Regions from separate parts of the Homo sapiens genome. Here all the other regions are linked to region 2. The links are contacts of gene promoters, found by promoter capture Hi-C in blood cells and fetal thymus (Javierre and others, 2016). All regions are on one chromosome and are shown on one strand. The core of a region is centred on a gene start or on the middle of the fragment in contact, and the rest is flanking DNA. Distances in the headings are between cores, read along the strand shown.

Evidence for each region. Contacts are between HindIII fragments. The CHiCAGO score rates a contact against its expected background, and 5 or more counts as called.
Region 1: a contact is called between a fragment that was not itself captured here and the fragment with the promoter of ITPRIPL2 in region 2, in 1 of 17 cell types (M0 macrophages). The highest score is 5.0, in M0 macrophages.
Region 3: a contact is called between a fragment that was not itself captured here and the fragment with the promoter of ITPRIPL2 in region 2, in 2 of 17 cell types (naive B cells and M0 macrophages). The highest score is 8.8, in naive B cells.

The regions. Positions count from the first base shown.
Region 1 is chr16:19,286,211-19,288,992 of GRCh38, reverse strand. The region is part of intron 1 of CLEC19A (C-type lectin domain containing 19A); the gene reads right to left. Among named protein-coding and RNA genes, the nearest start is that of CLEC19A, 1.9 kb to the right of the region's middle. The HindIII fragment of the contact is 4,175 bases long and covers 1-2,782 here.
Region 2 is chr16:19,112,483-19,115,368 of GRCh38, reverse strand. It overlaps ITPRIPL2 (ITPRIP like 2), which reads right to left and starts at 1,405. Exons shown (of 1, transcript NM_001034841.4): 1 at 1-1,405. The coding sequence starts at 907. RefSeq lists silencers at 844-1,213, 1,304-1,403. The HindIII fragment of the contact is 2,659 bases long and covers 1-1,830 here.
Region 3 is chr16:19,348,783-19,352,005 of GRCh38, reverse strand. No RefSeq gene overlaps it. Among named protein-coding and RNA genes, the nearest start is that of LINC02858, 16 kb to the right of the region's middle. The HindIII fragment of the contact is 187 bases long and covers 1,433-1,619 here.

The DNA of each region.
Region 1 (2,782 bases), core at 72-2,571, 170 kb before region 2:
AAGTATTAGATATTATTACAGTAGAAACAGTCTGGGTCACAGAACCTTCCCAGAGCTGAGAGTGCAATGCCAGGCTCTTGGATGGGTGAGGAAGAGGCTACATAACCTGACTTATTCCCCTTCTACGCTTCTGAAGCCCTGCAGAAGCAGATCCTGAGCTTCAAAACACTTTGCTATAAATTTCCTTTGCTATAGAGAGTTCTTGGGCTCAGGAGTCAGGGAAAGGAAACTTTTTGATGGTCGAAGAAGAATAATAAATGTTTACGTAGCTCTTACTGGGTGCCAGACACTGTTCTGAGGACTTTACATTCATTAATCCACTTAAACAATGAGATCAAAGGCAGATTCAGAGAAAAGGTTTTGGGAAAAGGATTTAGTCTGTCTAAATCCTCCCAAGTCTCTAAGAGATGTCTAAAAAGTTTTTTTTCCTCCAAAACATAGGGGGTGGCTGAGTTGTGCTATTTGCGTATATTTGCATATGCAAGGGGTGGGTGATGAAAGGTCTGGAGTAGTGGGATGAATGACCCATGACCTGTGCCCTGTTATGCATTGTACCTAAAGGCTGGGGGTCCACAGAAGAAGATGAAAAACCAAGCCTATTCTCAATAAGGAGGACCTTGGAGGTACATGTATTCTCATGGTCGGCCGGGGCCCACAGAGACCCCTAAATCCTCCCTACAACATACCAACACACACGCTCCTGCCCATATGCACCCATAAACTCACACACATTCCCTCTGTGTTGAAATCACTTTCCTCTAGAGAATCTATCTGCATAGGCTGAAACTGGGCTTCCTGTAGGGCTGGGAGCCTGGGAAGCAGTTGAACTGCCACTTGGACAGTGATGACCATGGTTGGCTCAATTGGCCTCTGTAGCCTCAGTTTCCATAGCCTTAATATGGAAAGGTTGGGCTGAGTGGATCTTTAAGACCCATCCTTCCATTTCCAAACTGCGAGCTCTCCCAGGTAGCTGAGATTGACACAATCTCAGTCCCCTTATCTATAGAGTAGGGATGAGGCTTGGGGACTGATGTTCAGAAGTTCCTTTCAATGTTGAAGACTTTTGTCAGAATAGAAAACTGTCTCCTGGCCAATTCTAGTATAACATCAACAACCACAGTGGCAAACATAGTAATGGCAATAACTCATTTTTTAAATGCTTCCTATGTGCTAAGCACTTCACCTGCACGAGCTCATTGAAGATCTCCAAAACCCTTGATAAGGACCCTTGTTATCCCCACTTGGGGCTCAGAGAGGTGAGGAAACTTGAGTCTCAGAGAGGTCCCATGGGCACAAGCTAGTGAAGGACAGAAAATACCCCTAGTTACTCCCGCTTTCAAACTCAGTCTTGGCCCCTTCCCACTTTTGCTGGGCAGAAAGGCAAGATCTTGGGATATACGAGGCGCAGTCTGCAAGGATATTTTGTTCAACTTCTTTCCTACTTGCTTATTGTATTGGTGAGGAAACTGAGGTCCGAGAGTAAGGAGGCAAGTCACTGCTATGAATGGAATGTCTGTGTCTCTCCTCTTCCCTGCCCCCAATTCATATGTTAAAGCTCTGACTCCCAATGTGATGGTATTGGGAGGGGGGACCTTTGGGAAGTGATTAGATTTAGATGGGATCCCATCCTTATGATGGGATTAGTGTGCTTATAAGAGGAAGAGACCAGAGCTTTCTCTTACTCTGCCATGTGAGGGTACAGTGAGAAGGCGGCCATCTGCAAGCCAGGAAGAGAGTCCTCACCAGGAATAAAATCTGCTGGCATCCTGATCTTGAACTTCCCAGCCTCCAGAACTGTGAGAAATAAATGTTTGTTGCTTAAGCTCCCCAGTCTGTGATATTCGCAGCCTGAGCTGATGAATACACTCAGAGAGTTTAGGACAGAACTGAAACCCCTTGCCCAAATGAGCTAAGACTATCCCTTATTGTTACCACTAGGGATGCTAGATTAACAAAAAAAAAAAAAAAAAAGAAGGATACCTAGTTAAATTTGATTTCAGGTAAACAAACAGATAATTTTTAGTATAAATACGTCCCATGTAATATTTGGGGCATGCTTACACTAAGAAATAATTTATTAATATTTATTTATTGGTATTTTATCTGACAACCCTATCAACCCTCTGTTTAAAGTCACTCTAACACTATCACAACCCAATAATTTGGCCTTATGAGAATCTCCATCTAGGTATTTCATTATTAGTTTTACTTGAACGGGGATTTAAAAATGATATCTCTGCCACTGCTATGATAAATAAATCCATATATGAACATAAACAAGCCTGGAAAGAACCTGGTAGAGGTGACAGTCAAGACTCTTGGCCACCAAATTATAGGATTCAGAACTCTTCTCATCCAGATGAGGGTCCCCCAGAATCAGTAACCCAGCCTTCCTATTGCAAAGTGGAAGAAGTTGAGCTCATTTGAAGACCCTCACCCTCCATATGGGACACTGGGAGGCCACATGCCCAAGGCTGACAGGTTCTCATCCCTGGGGATGCCCCACAAGGCTGGGGGTTGCTGGGCCAGGCCTCCAGGGAGGCCATTAGAGGGACAAGTCTCCCTCCCTGCGCACCTAACCTCTGGTGGCACTGCAGCAGCTCTGAAAGCTCCCTGGGAAGGCTGTCACAGCCAAGGTGGGGTTGGGGCCCAGATGCCAAATCCCTCACAAAACTACCATGTTCAGATCTTCCTGTAGTGCCAGACACTGTGCAAAGCACTTTCCTCATGTTATCTTATCTGCCTTGCACAGTAGCCCAAAGAGAATGCCATTGCGACCCAA
Region 2 (2,886 bases), core at 156-2,655:
GGCGGCAGCAGCCGTAGTCAGTGCGGCAGGGCAAGATGTGTAAGGTGGGGGGCTGTTCCAGGCCACCTGGGGTCAAGGTGACCCGACAGCGCCCCTCCAGGCTGTAACGCACAGTGGCCAAGGAGCGCTGCAGATGCGACTGGAACCAGCGCAGCACCAGAGTAGCAGAGAGGTGACGCCGCCCGCGCACATCCACGCAGAAGGCATCAGCAAAGGGTTTGCAGTCCCGAAGCCAGTGGCCCCCCGAGGCCCCCGATGGTGAGGGTGGTGCCTTGAGGGCGCACAAGAAGCAGCCGCGGAAGGCCGGGGCCAGCGCTGGCTCCTCGCCCAGGCTCCGTGGCTCCAGCGCCACAAGCGGCGGGAGGCGCAGTGGCACCAGCACGTCGAAGCTGTCGGGCCGGCGGATTTTATGTTGCTCGTAGGCGCTGCCCACCTGGATGAAGTCTCCGCGGAAGGCCAAGGCCAGCGCTCCCCCAGGAATGAGACCGGGGGACCCCCGGGCGCGGCCAGCCCGCACCAGCTCGCCCACGATCCGGCTCACGTGCGCCTTGCTGTGGCCCAACACGTGCGGAGACAGGCGCACCTCATGCTCGTAGTAACTCTCCAGCAGGATGCTGAGGCCCGGCTCTCGGAAGTGTCTCGAGGAGAAGGCGGCGTGACCCTCCAGACGGGGAGACCCGGGCAGGAAGCGCTGCCGGACAGCGTGGCGACAGCGCAGGAGGACATAGCTGAGGAGGAGCAGGACGGCCACCTTAAGCAACGGGAAGCCGCCATCCACGCCGTCGGCGGGCTCGGCCCGGGCGCCCCCGCTTCCCCGCAGGACATGGTAGAGGCACACCAGGGCGGTGCACAGGCCGGTCACCAGGGGCCAGAAGACGCGTAGATTGAGGGTGTAGTGCACCGACATGCCGGGCGCCCGGGGCGGCGGTGGCCGAGCAGCCCAGGGGGCAAGCCCCGGCGGCGACCCAAGCCCAGCATGCGCACAGCGCCCGGGCAGCCCCGCTGTCCCCGTCTCCTCCTCCGCGGCGGCTTCCCGAACGCAGGCCCGAGGGAGGCCGCCCTCCAGCTCGGCCTCCTCTCCCAGCTCAAGTGTTCCTTCCAGCTGCGGCCCGCCCTGCGCTCTCGGGCCCCGGGCCGCGCCCTGCCCCGGCTGCGCGCTGAGTCCGGCCCAGCGGCCCTCCCCGCCCGGCGCCCCCGCGCGCCGCCGTCGGCCAGCTTCTGGCCCGGCCTGGCTCGCCTCCTACCCTGGGCGGCCCTCCTGGCTCTCCCGCCGCTCCTCTCCGCGCCTGACCCTGTTACTCGGACCCCGGGAGTTTCCTCTTCCGAGGGGGAGGCGAGGCCGCGCCAGCTAGCGGGGAGGAAATGCCGGAGTCTGGAGCCGAGCGTGGAGCTGGCGAGCCGGGTCGGCCCCCTCCCGGGCCTCCGCCTTAAAGCGACGCGGGGCGGCGGGAGGGACTTCAGGACGCTCTTGGAACTGGCCTCCCGCGGCCCACCCCCATCCTCCCTCCCCGAAGGCAGAATTGGGAAGGCCCTGATTCCGGGGCGGTAGCTTCGTCCAGGGAGCCTCTGGAGTTGCGCTCCCTTGAAGTTATACTGGGACGTTGAAAAGGAGAAAAGGGCGCACAGCCAGACTGTCCAGTCCTCCCCACCCCCACCGCACAAGCTGCGGTGGCGTGGCAGGCCCTGGCACAGGAGTGGCCCTTGCCGTCTGCCGCAGTCGTCTGTTCAAACCAGTATTCACCGAGCACCTACCATGTGCCAGGTCGGAGCCACAGTGCTGGGGAAATCATAGTTGACAAGATGGACAAGGTTTCTGTCCTTCGTGAAGCTTACAGCCTTGTAAAAATGGGAATCAAAAAAGGAAGGGGCTGGGCGCAGTGTCTCACGCCTGTAATCCCAGCACTTTGAGAGGCCGAAGTGGGCGGATCATTTAAGGTCAGTAGTTCGAGACTAGCCTGGCCAACATGGTGAGACCCCCCCCCCCGCCCCCCATCTCTACTAAAAATACAAAAATTAGCCAGGCGTAGTGGCACGCGCCTGTAATCCCAGCTGTTCGGGAGGTTCAGGCAGGAGAATCGCTTGAATCCGGGAGGCGGAGGCTGCCGTGAGCCGAGATCGCGCCACTGTACTCCAGCCTGGGTGACAGAGTGAGACTCCGTCTCAAAAAAAAAAAAAAAAAAAAAAAAAGTGGGGGGAAGGATTCCACAGCAAGAAAACGCTCTAAAATAAACAAAAGTGCCCGAGGGAGTGAGAAGGTGCTGGCTACCCTGTGGAAACCAGAGGATGACAGGGGTGACATTTGGCCTGAGACTTCATCGGAACATGCTGGTTCACCCCTGTAATCCCAGCACTTTGGGAAGCCGAGGCGGCGAGAAGATCGCTTGAGTGAGGCCAGGAATTCGAGGCTGCAGTGAGCTATGATAGCATCATTGCACTCCAGCCTGAGTGACAGAGCAAGACTCTTGTCTCTGAAAAAATAAAATAAATAAAATGAAATGAAATTAAAATAAAATTATTTTCCCAGTGGAGGAAAGGGGCACAAACAGGTTCAGCTCAGGCAGGTTCAGCTGCCCCCCTTCCCCCCTCCCCCACAAGGTTACACAGCCTTTGTAGAGCTGGGCAGAAACCAAGGGGTGGAACTCCCAGGAGGGGGCCCAGGGAAGGTCTCTTCCTCATCTGCTGGGAATTTTGGGGGTCCTTTGTCTGGGTCTACATTGGAACCTCAGTCCTAGGAAGCTTGTTTTGTTTCATAACAGGGAGCACTTCCTGAAATAATCTGATCTATTTAAATAATTGTCTTTCTTTATTCACACTCATTACACCTTCTTTGCTGGCACTGACCTTTAAAGAGAGCAAGGGTGAATATATTAAAACATGTTAGAACCC
Region 3 (3,223 bases), core at 277-2,776, 240 kb before region 2:
TCTAGATATTTTTTATAAATGGAATCACACAATATGTAGCCTTTTGAGTCTGCCTTCTTTCAGTCAGCGTAATGTTTTCAAGGTTCATCCATGTTGTAGCATGTATCAGTACTTCATTCCTTTTTAATAAGAAGGAATCTTATTATTATTATTATTATTTCTGAGACGGAGCCTTGCTCTGTCGCCCAGGCTGGAGTGCAGTGGTGCGATCTCGGCTCACAGCAACCCCTGCCTCCTGGGTTCAAGCCATTCTCCTGCCTCAGCCTCCCAAGTAGCTGGGACTACAGGCGTGTGCCACCACACCCAGCTAATTTTTGTATTTTTAGTAGAGATGGGGCTTCACCACGTTGGTCAGGCTGGTCTTGAACTGCTGACTTCAAGTGATCTGCTCGCCTTGACCTCCCAAAGTGCTGGCATTACAGGCGTGAGCCACCGCGCCCGGCCAAGAAGGAATATTATTGCATAATGATATTAACGCATATTGCAAGGCATAGGTATCTCTCATTTTGATTATCCATTCATCAGTTTATGGATATTTGGGTTGTTTTCACCTTCTGGCTATGAACATTTGTGGATAAGTTTTTGTTTAAATCCATGTTTTCAATTTTTTTGGCATATATGGTAATTCTGTGCTTAACTTATTGAGGAACTGCCACACGGTGACAGTCCCACAGTGCCTGCATAATTTTGCATTCCTACCAGCAGCATATGGGGGCTCCAATTTCCACACCCTTGTCAATACTTGTTCTTGTCCTTTAAAAAAATTATAGCCATCCTAGTGGGTGAGTAAAAGACTTTCTGTTGGCTGGGCTCAGTGGCTCATGCCTATAATCCCAACAGTTTGGGTGGCTGAGGCAGGCAGATTGCTTGAGTTCAGGAGTTCAAGACCAGCCTGGGCAACATGGTGAAAACCTGTCTCTACTAAAAATACAAAAAATTAGCCAGGTGTGGTGGTGCGTGCCTGTAGTCCCAGCTACTTGGGAGGCTGAGGTGGGAGGATTGCTTGAGCCCAGGAAGTTGAGGCTGCAGTGAGCTGTGATAGCACCATTGCACTCCAGCCTGAGCAACTGGAGTGAGACCCTGTCTCACAAAAACAAAAAACCTCAACTTTCTGTCTAAACTCTGTCTCCCCTGCCTTTCTCCCAATTTCTCAAAGAACTAATATAATTTTGCACAATAATTTTTTAAGCTATCTATGGTTTAGTCTATCAATTGTGATTCTTTTGGTTGCAAGTAACAGGAAACCAACTCAAACCAGGTCAAACAATAAAAGCCAGCTTCAGAGACACTTCTGGTGTGGTTTGATCAAGATTCCAGCTCTGTTTCACTGCAGTTCTTCTGGCACTGCCTTCTCCGTAAGTTGGATTCATCCACAAACTGGCTTTCTCCAGGGCTTTAAGGTAGCTATCAACAACAAACAAGGTTACAAGCTTCTTTATTCATATCTGAGGAGGGCGAGTCACTGCCCTTAATTGATGAATACAAATCCTAACTCCGTTGATTGGACCAGTCTTAAACCAATTCTCCTAATCGTGGATCACTGAGCTGATTCGCTTAGGCTAGGCCTGGGTTACTTGAACCAGTCAAGGGCAAGTCTGATGGAAATACCCTGATAAGCTTGGACCCATCAAGTCCCACCCTTGGATTTGAGATTTAGGTCAATTCCATCCACCACAGCTTTTAGACAATGAGGGAAAAGGAAAAAGGAAATCGATGTCCGCTCTATTGCTATTTGCTTTGTTAGAGGATTTGGTGAAAAGAAGTCCATTTGGTAGAATCTTTTTTCTTTTCTTTTCTTTCTTTCTTTTTTTTTTTCGAGATGGAGTCTCGCTCTGTTGCCTAGGCTGGAGTGCAGTGGCACGAATTCGGCTCACTGCAACCTCCACCTCCCAGGTTCAAGCAATTCTCCTGCCTCAGCCTCCTGAGTAGCTGGGACTACATATGCGTGCCACCACACCTGGCTAATTTTTTGTATTTTAAGTTGAGACGGAGTTTCACCGTGTTAGCCAGGATGGTCTCCATCTCCTGACCTTGTGATCCATCCGCCTCGGCCTCCCAAAGTGCTGGGATTACAGGCGTGAGCCACCACGCCTGGCCCATTTGGTAGAATCTTAATGTCCATCTGCTAGAGTTATGGTCAAATTGAAGTGGACTGGCGGCCTTTCTGTTATAATGATTCTAAATAGCATTATTAATACTTAGTGTCTTAAACCTTTATATATCTTAAAACTTATTTGTGGGTATTATCAGTATTCCCACTTTACCGATGAGGTTTGTAAGGTTGACAAATCTGAAAGATTCTATCACCTTGAACCAAGACGGGATATATGTGTGTTCTTTCTAGGCATATTCTGACAGCTCAGCAGAGTCGGCTAAGATGTGTGGGCACCTGGACAGGCTAATGTTGAGGTATCCTATTGAGTCTGGCGGTCAGGGTTAAAAACCTGGCCCCATCACCTACCAGGTGGTGACCTTGAGCAAGTTACTAGCACTTTGTGCCTCAGTACTTTGGCAATAACAAATAGTACCTACCTTGTAGAATTGTTAATGAAGATTACATCATTCATATACATGGTAAGAGCCCTGTTAATCTTTGTAAAAAAAAAGTCTTTGTAAAAAATAATGACACTTTTCTCTATCTGGTTACATTTCCAGGGATGTTTTAGCACCATCCTTGAGGTTTGGCACCTGCTGTTCCATCCCTTAATCCAGTTCAGGCTGCAACCTGGACCTTCTCCAACCCCCAGCCACTTTGCTAATCAATATCTTATCGCATCGCATCTCAGTCTGGGCTCTCCCAGACCAGGCAGGGAGCCCCTAGGTCCTGCCAGCCTGCTGCCACCGTCTGCATGGCTCTTAGCTGGGGAGACAGAAACCAAATCCTTCCCAAAGATGCTGGGAAATTAGTTTAGCACCGTCTGCCGGTGTGCGGTGACTCAGAGGCAGCCAGCCCAGCGGGGCTTATGGGCTCCAGGGTTTGAACAAGATTGATGTTGTCGTGAATGCAAAGCAGGCTGAGAGAGCCAGGGGGGCTGGTAGGCAGGGCAGGCAAGAGCCCTCTGTTTACTCCTAGCTCCCCTTCTAGGTGAGCTGAGGTTTTGGGCAGCAGGGCCAGCTCAGCTGCTTACTATGATGTTAGGGAAGCCAGAGGACTCTGAGGAGGGGCAGTGGGGTGCCCAGATTTTAAGGGTTCATGTGATTAAGTCAGCAGCTGGCTCTGGGG